Linked DNA regions of Homo sapiens: regions 2 and 3 are each linked to region 1. Evidence: promoter capture Hi-C in 16 types of primary human blood cells and fetal thymus (Javierre and others, 2016). All regions are on one chromosome and are shown on one strand. Each heading gives the region's core, a stretch centred on a gene start or on the middle of the fragment in contact. The rest is flanking DNA. Distances are from core to core; before and after follow the strand shown.

What was found. The method cuts DNA at HindIII sites, captures the fragments that hold promoters and counts their contacts. A CHiCAGO score of 5 or more calls a contact.
Region 2: a contact is called between a fragment that was not itself captured here and the fragment with the promoter of ASB13 in region 1, in 4 of 17 cell types (M1 macrophages, M0 macrophages, erythroblasts and 1 more). The highest score is 8.3, in M1 macrophages.
Region 3: a contact is called between a fragment that was not itself captured here and the fragment with the promoter of ASB13 in region 1, in 1 of 17 cell types (endothelial precursors). The highest score is 5.1, in endothelial precursors.

What each region holds. Positions count from the first base shown.
Region 1 is chr10:5,665,297-5,667,844 of GRCh38, reverse strand. ASB13 (ankyrin repeat and SOCS box containing 13) reads left to right here and starts at 1,250. Exons shown (of 6, transcript NM_024701.4): 1 at 1,250-1,336. The coding sequence starts at 1,294. RefSeq lists silencers at 1,247-1,316, 1,617-1,666. The HindIII fragment of the contact is 2,178 bases long and covers 148-2,325 here.
Region 2 is chr10:4,811,679-4,814,226 of GRCh38, reverse strand. No RefSeq gene overlaps it. Among named protein-coding and RNA genes, the nearest start is that of AKR1E2, 13 kb to the left of the region's middle. The HindIII fragment of the contact is 3,258 bases long and covers 1-2,548 here.
Region 3 is chr10:4,832,966-4,835,513 of GRCh38, reverse strand. AKR1E2 (aldo-keto reductase family 1 member E2) reads right to left here. Exons shown (of 10, transcript NM_001040177.3): 3 at 2,048-2,164. Among named protein-coding and RNA genes, the nearest start is that of AKR1E2, 8.0 kb to the right of the region's middle. The HindIII fragment of the contact is 4,627 bases long and covers 1-2,548 here.

The sequences.
Region 1 (2,548 bases), core at 1-2,500:
CAGTGCAAATGGCTTGAAATTCCATTCCCAGGCCTGGGGCTCCACATTTCCAGGGGCTCTGCTTTCCAAAAGATATGGTTCAATGTCCCCTAGGTATAGTGCCTTCGGTCTGGACTGCAGATGGAGACCTGGGTCATCCCAGAAGCTTTGTAGTGTGAGAGATCAAACTGGCTGCTCTGCCAGGCCTCACCTATTTCCAGACTGGATGATTCCTGATACTTTTACTTTTGAGCCCAAACTAACTTCTGCATGGAGGTTCAGTACAGGTCAGGTGAGTGACGAATCTCCTGACAGGGCTACAGTGAACTTTCACAAGGTTAAACCTTCTAAACTTGGGAAGCTGCTTTGCAAAAATAAATAAATAAAATAAAAATCCCTTACTCAATTGTTGACTGGGTATTATTCCGGAAACAGGAAACAGGTTTTTCATTTCTGCCAGGTTGTGCCCCAGCTTCCATTTGCTAAGCAGCTTAGGGGAACATTGGATTAAAAACCACCCGTAAAGAAAAGGCATTAAGAAATTGATTTGAACGATTTGAAATTATTATCTTGAAAGATCAAAGAAACAGTGATTATGAACACCGGCTCTGGTGGGAAGCGGTTCTTGAAAGTTAAAGCATGGGGGAACTCGAGTACTCTGGAGCATCATCAGCATCTGTACAATGCAAGTGAACTCTGGAAGCTAGACGCATGCTTTGCACGTGGACACAGACACATGCTTGCACAGGACACATTTGCAATACATACATGTTTATACATGGACACATGTTTTGCACACGCTTGCACAGGACACGCTTGCACAGGACACATGCACAGGATGCATGTTTTGTACAGGACACATGTTTTGCACATGGAAACACATATCCATGCTTTGCAAAGGGACACAGGGAAGCATGCTTACAATGGATACAAGTTTACACACGGACGCATGTTTTGCACAGGACATATGCACAGGATGCATGTTTTGCACACGGACACACACGTTTACATAGGACAAGTGCACAGGACACGTTTTGCACCGGACGTATTCTGTGCACGGGACGCACGGTTTGCAGATGCAAGCACACACACTCCTCGGCGCGACGGGCGAAGCGGGGTGGGCAGCGACAGCGGAGTCCGGACCCAGGGACAGCGCCTCCGGGAACCTCGCCAAGGCGGCGGGAACTACAACTCCCGGCTCGGTCGCCTCGGGACGACGCGCGGCCCAGCGCAGACTGGCCCCGCCCAGCGGCCCCGCGCGGCCCGGCCCAGGTCCCGGCGCCCAGAGTCGCCGCGCGGCCGCCGGTGAGCCGCATGGAGCCCCGGGCGGCGGACGGCTGCTTCCTGGGCGACGTGGGTACGTGCGGGCGCCGCGGAGGTCAGAGCGAGGCAGCGGCGCCGGCTCCTGAGGCCGGCCGCGTATCCGATGGCCTGCGCCGGGGAGGTGGTGGCGCGCCCCGCGCTGGCTCCGTGGGCGGGGGCGTTTGGCGGGGTGGGCCGCGGTGAAAGCAGGGTCCCAGTGGTGCCGCGCATCCCAGACGGGCTCTCATGTCTGGTGCCTTGTCCCAGGCCAGCGCACTGCGGGGTTGCAGTCCGTGCGGCTCGCCAGGTGTGGGGTTTCGCAACCGCAAACCCACCGAGCGCCGCGCGCCCTGGGGAAGGTGCGGGACGCGTGCGGGGCCGTTGCCCAGTGGCGGGGGAGAGCCTGGGAAACGCCCACGGTGCTCCCTCTCGGGGAAGCCAGGCGCGAGCCCACGGTAAGAGCTAAACCCCCCTCCACTGGCGCGGGTGAGGCCGTGGCGCAGTGTCCGAGCATCCTGCAGAGGCGTCCGCGTGACCCCGACTCCGCTCCAGTGAAGGTGGCCTTGGGGCACCCCGGCACACTCCGAAAAGTGCCATCCCAGTTCGCAGCCTACTTTACCAAAATCCGAGCAGCCCAAGAATGAAATGGATTTGAGGGAAGGACACTCTTTGGGGAAGCAAATTTTTTTGCTGCCTATGAAGCAATAATATGGTCACTGAAATGAGCGACGGAAGCACTATGAAAGCCTAAAAAGAAAAAAAAAATCTAAAGCATATTCATCCTGGTAAAAACAGTAGTGCACCTAAGAGGGAAAAGTCTTAAGGGTAAATTTAGCTGAAGAGGAAGTTGCAGTCATAGCAAGGCAAAGATATTTTAATTGACTTTGCAAAATAACCACCTTTGACATGATCAAAGGTATCTAATAAGCATGTGTTTTTACTTGGCATTCCAGTCCAGGCAAGCACAAGACTTTGACCCTGACACTGTGATCTGCATTTGATTAGCTTAATTGAGTAAGCAGTGAATAGCTAACGGCAGAAGCTTATTTAAACACATATTTTAATATTTCTGTTCATGGCATCACTTCTGAGCATGTCTTCTGCATCGTTTGTTATGGAATGCATCTGTAGAAGAAAGGCACATTTTAAACTAATGAATCCGCAACTTTTGAGGTTCACTGGTATTTTTGACATTGTCATTTTTTATTTAATATATTTCTCCCCAAATAAGTTCTGCTGATGTTTTTTATTCCCAGTGTAATGAATA
Region 2 (2,548 bases), core at 25-2,524, 850 kb after region 1:
ACTCCTGACCTCAAGTGATCCACCTGCCTTGGCCTCCCAAAGTGCTGGGATTTCAGGCGTGAGCCACTGTGCCCGGCTGGTTTACCGTATTTTTTAATACACTAATATGTGTTAGCCTCAAAGACCTAGTTTCTTCTATAAAGTTTATAAACCAGGCTTCATGATTTTAGGGGAGATGACTTTTTAGAATATCTAAAAGGAGATGTTTCATTTTTTAAACCAAAATTTAGAAGCAGAAGCTACCTGGCACTAGTGTCCTTTTATCCATCATGAAAGTCTAGTCCCTTTGGTAGGGGACAAATGGATGCTTGTGGCTCAAGAGAAAGTAAACCCTGAGAAAGAGTTACTGAGTTAGAGTATGGTTTCAGATAAAAACGGTGATTAACTTCAGAAGATTTTTTTTATAATTATGGAACTCCAGACTAAACATTCTTAGGGTTTCTGGTCCAAAAGAGCTTCATTAAAAAAATATATATATATATACTTGGACATTCCACTGATCGCCGCTGTTTCAGGTGGGGTCATTTTAAGCTGTTAGTCATCTCTGGACCAGTCGCTGTGATCATTCCAAATGATTTCCCCCTTGAATTTCAATGACATCTATGCTGGGCTCAAGGGCTCATGCCTGTAATGCCAGCACTTTGAGAGGCCAAGGTGGGTTGATCACTTGAGACCAGGAGTTTGAGACCAGCCTGGCCAACGTGGCAAAATCCTGTCTCTACTAAAAATACAAAAAAAAAAAAATTAGCTGGGCACGTTGGCTCATGCCTGTAATCCCAGCTACTCTGGAGACTGAAGCACGAGAATTGCTTGAACCCAGGAGGCAGAGGTTACAATGAACCGAGATGACACCACTGCACTCCAGCCTGGGCAACAGAGTAAGACTGTCAAAAAAAAAAAAAAAAAGAAGAAGTCAATGACATTTGGCTTATGTATGCAACTCATACAGTGCTGACTTTAAACAGCCAGTACAGTAGGAGAAAGGGAACGACCCCCAAGAACTAGAGAAGAATCATCATCGCATAGGAGTTAAGCACATAAGCCCCATGTGTAACGGACCAGGTCAGGTGCTTGCTGAGTCACCAGTGATGCATCTGGAGATGTGTGACTCCCTGCAGCATCAAAGCAACTCCTGGGAAGTCTCACGGAGGCAGAAGAGAGACTCAGTTATAAATGCAAATGCTAAATCTGGCCGGCTGTACTGCCTATGTGAAGACCATATTAAAATAACCAGGCAACTTTTTTGATGTTAATTTAATAATAACAGCTATGCAAAATACTTAAAAACCAACTGTTTCAATTCAAGCAAGTCCCACTTCCACCCTAGGGGTGGGGTATTCTTTTTAACCCGACTTTCATGATGGATAAACCAAGGCACAGAGAAGTTCAGTAACTTTTCCAGGACTCCAGTCTCGTAAGTGACAGGGAGGACGGACTCCTGGGTCCACCCTGGCATAGAAGCATACTGTGTTATCTGTGTAACGGCCCGCCTGCCGGTGCTGCAAGCTCCCGAGGATGGGAAATGTGTGTTACCTTTCCACCGGAGGCCCAGCACCTTCATCACTGCTGCTTTCCTAGCACAGTGTGTTTGTTGGTGTGGAGGAGTGTTTAGAAGGCAGGAATTTGCTCTTTTTTTTTTACATAGCACTGCCCTGGAGACAGGGACCAGATCTTCAAGAGGGAACATTATTTATTCATCATCGATTATGGTTGCAGTGTGAAACAGAAAGAATACAGACACAAAATACACAGTACCTGCTCTCACAGGCCTCACATCTTCTTAAGATGACAGAGTGATATTAATTTTAAGATAAAATTCTTATTTAAAGGCTGGCTTCCATATTAATCCTAAATGAGTGTGGGCTTCATATTGGAGTTTCAAAATACAGGAATCAAAAGCTGATAGAACTGAAAAGGGGAAATAAGTCTGCAATTCTAGCTAGAGATTTCAACACAGTAATGGATAGAATCAGTGCCTAGACAATCTGTGGAAAGACAGAAGAGCTGGACAACTCTACCCTGCCCGGGACATTAGTGACCACACCCAATTGAAGCAAATACACATTCTGCTCACAGGCATTTGGGACATTCACCAAGAGAGAAGAGAACACATTCTGGGCCATAAAATGAATGTGTGTTGGAAAGGATGGAAATTCTGCCACATTCGCACCCCCAGCTGCAAAGCCTCTCTCTGGGTGCAGATGGAGAGAACAAGCCTGCTGTTGGGGTGACAGGCAGCACCTGTGTGCAATTGTACAGGCCTGCACTAAACAATCTCAGAGTGTGCAGGAGAGGAGAAGGTGGTGAGACATGTGGAAGGGGAGCCATCAGCAGGACACAACTCCTTGCAGCAACTGTGGGGCTCAAGAGAGGAGTAACAGCCAGGAATATTCACTGGTTCCTGGCTTGGGTAATGGTGTGGGTTATGATTTAATTCACTAATCATAAAAGTGCAAGGCAAGAGGAAAGATTTGGAATGAGTCTGTGCATCTGTGTCATTGTGTGTGTGTCCATGAGTTTGTGTGTGTTTGTGTGTGTCTCTGTGTGT
Region 3 (2,548 bases), core at 49-2,548, 830 kb after region 1:
GGCTGGTGGACTGGATGGCTGGCAAAGCCTCTGCCAGCCTGATGTTCACTGTTCATCTCTCACAAGATGGGAAAGGAAGACCCTGTATCCTTACTGATGCAAGGTTGTCCTCTCCCATTGCCTCCAGAAAATAGTTTACTAATTTCGGGTAAAGAATGGGTGAGGAGTGCATTTTCTTCATGTCTTATAGAGCCCAATCAACCCTCTCCTAACTCCACTGTTAGGGTCTTGTCTTCTTTCTTAGAATCCCCATCATGATGACAGGTAAGGAAGTGAGAATACAAAGGTACACAGGAGGTAGAGGGCAGAGAGATACATCTTGAAAGGGCAAGAACCTAAAGTCATCTTTCAGAGAAGCACTGACGTGCAATCCAGCTACCTCCCTCATGTACTCCCACGTAGCATGTTAAGGGTGAATGGCATAGGCATGTTTATTTAATGACACCTAATCACACTCCTAAACAACAGTGGAAGAATGTCACATGTTCCAGCCTGATACACATGAAAGAGGCATTTTCCATGATGAGCTGAAGTAACTAACAGTCTCACTTTAAAGCCACATCCCATGTTGCCATTTATCCAAGCCTCCACAAAATTGCAGCCCGGGACTCATACTCGGACCCTGATCTAATTGTCCAGCATCACACAAGGCCTAGCAGTTCCTACTGGCCAGAAGACATGCTGACGATGCTGCATTATTCTCTTCTGTAATTTGTTGGATGATCTGAGACCTTTTCCTTTTCTACGACCCAGAAATCCAAAGACAGGAATCTGCTAAAGGATGAGGGCAAGGAAAGTGTAACAAATGTCTGACCTGAGCATATGCTTCTGGGCTCCAATAATCTAACTTAAACCTTAAACTTTCTGTATCTTAGTTTCATCATCTCTCCAAGAGGGATGTTAATAGTGTCAACTTTGTAGAACTGTCATGAGAATTAAATGAGTTAATATGTGTAAAGTACCTAACATAGTTCTGGGTACATAATTACAACAATGCTGGCTGGCAATGAGTGTAATACAGCTGTAGCCATTGTTTTAATTATGATTTTCTGCATGCAATGAATTTCAAGGCACAGACATCACTCTGGTTTTGCCCTCTGGGTATCTTCCCCTCTTAGTCAGTGTCACTAACGGACAGCTGCCCACATCGTTTATGGAAACTAGATACAAAGCCTTAGTTAAGTAAAGCTGTGCTAGGAATGAAGTGTTTTTTGTTATTTTACTCTAAAACAGTAACCAACAGTGTGGCACACATAAAGGGACCTTCTCACAGGTTGGTATGTAGAAGACTGCTGAGCAGCAGTCACCCATTCCATTGTAGGAAGAACATCCCTGCAAGGGCTTCTGTATTTCACAGGTGTCAACTGTGTGATCAGGCCCTTGCCCAGGCAGGCTGTCATCACAGCCCAGGGCAAATATGCAGGGACATCCTGGCCAGGACCCGTGTGAGGCAGAAGCAGGTTGCCTAGAGTAGGGAAGTTGCACGGCCAGACTGGGGTAGCTTAGTGACAGAGCCATGGCTCAGATGCATGCTCCAGACACACTGTGAAGCAATTAAGAGAATAAAACCAAGTGGAAAAGTCAACTACCAGCACAACCCACTGGACCCTGCTGCAGGTGAACAAGCAAATATCTCCCATATTGCAAAACAGCATTTACTCCCCAAAGAGAACAGAACCTGCAAGAAGAGACAAGGCCTAGGAATTCACTGGGAACTTTCTCTGAGCAGCAGTATTTCCTCATCTGATCACTGCTTTCACCTAAAAACCTAAGGGAAAAAAATCTACTGCTCTCTTGGCTTGGAAAAAAAGCGACTGGCTTGAAAGACAGACCTGTGGGGGCCTCAGAGGTCAAGCCAAGCCTCTCCTTAACTGAGGCCCAGAGATATCAAGAGGACTGCCCAAATGCCGCAGCTAGCATGTGGCAGATGCAGCCTGGGAACCCCTGCCCTGAATGCTGGTCCATGCTCTCCCCACCGCAAGACAGGGTGTGAGCACGGGGAGGAAGGTCCTGCAAACTGCAGAACGAACTACCTACTGAACGGTACCTTGAAACCCATGGGCCAGTGTATGAGGTAGAGGTCCAAATAGTTCAGCTTCAAGGCCTTGAGACTCTTTCTGCATGCTGTTTCCACCAAGGACTTCTTATGGCAGGTGCACCACAGCTACAAAGGAGAGGGGACCAGCGTCACACGTGCCCACCCAGAGCCAGCATGGCACCCATTCTGTAGCCCCACAAAGCTACTGTCTTGAACCCAAAATAGCCAAGATGAGATGACCACAAATACAACACGGCAAGTTCTGATGGGAGGACAGGGACATTATCCTCAGAAGAGTTCCAGGACACCTGCAGGGAGAGGCTCCAAAGCTGGGATCCTTCTGCCTGACTCCTCCTCAAGGGAAGCTCAGGAATCCAAGAGATATTTGATGGTTATTTGGATTCATTGGGACCAAAAACAAAAACGAAAATGAAATTCCTGCAGGCAGAAAAGATATGACGAAAAATCAGAAGAATCTCTATCTTGTGTTTCTCACTTACACAGACTCCG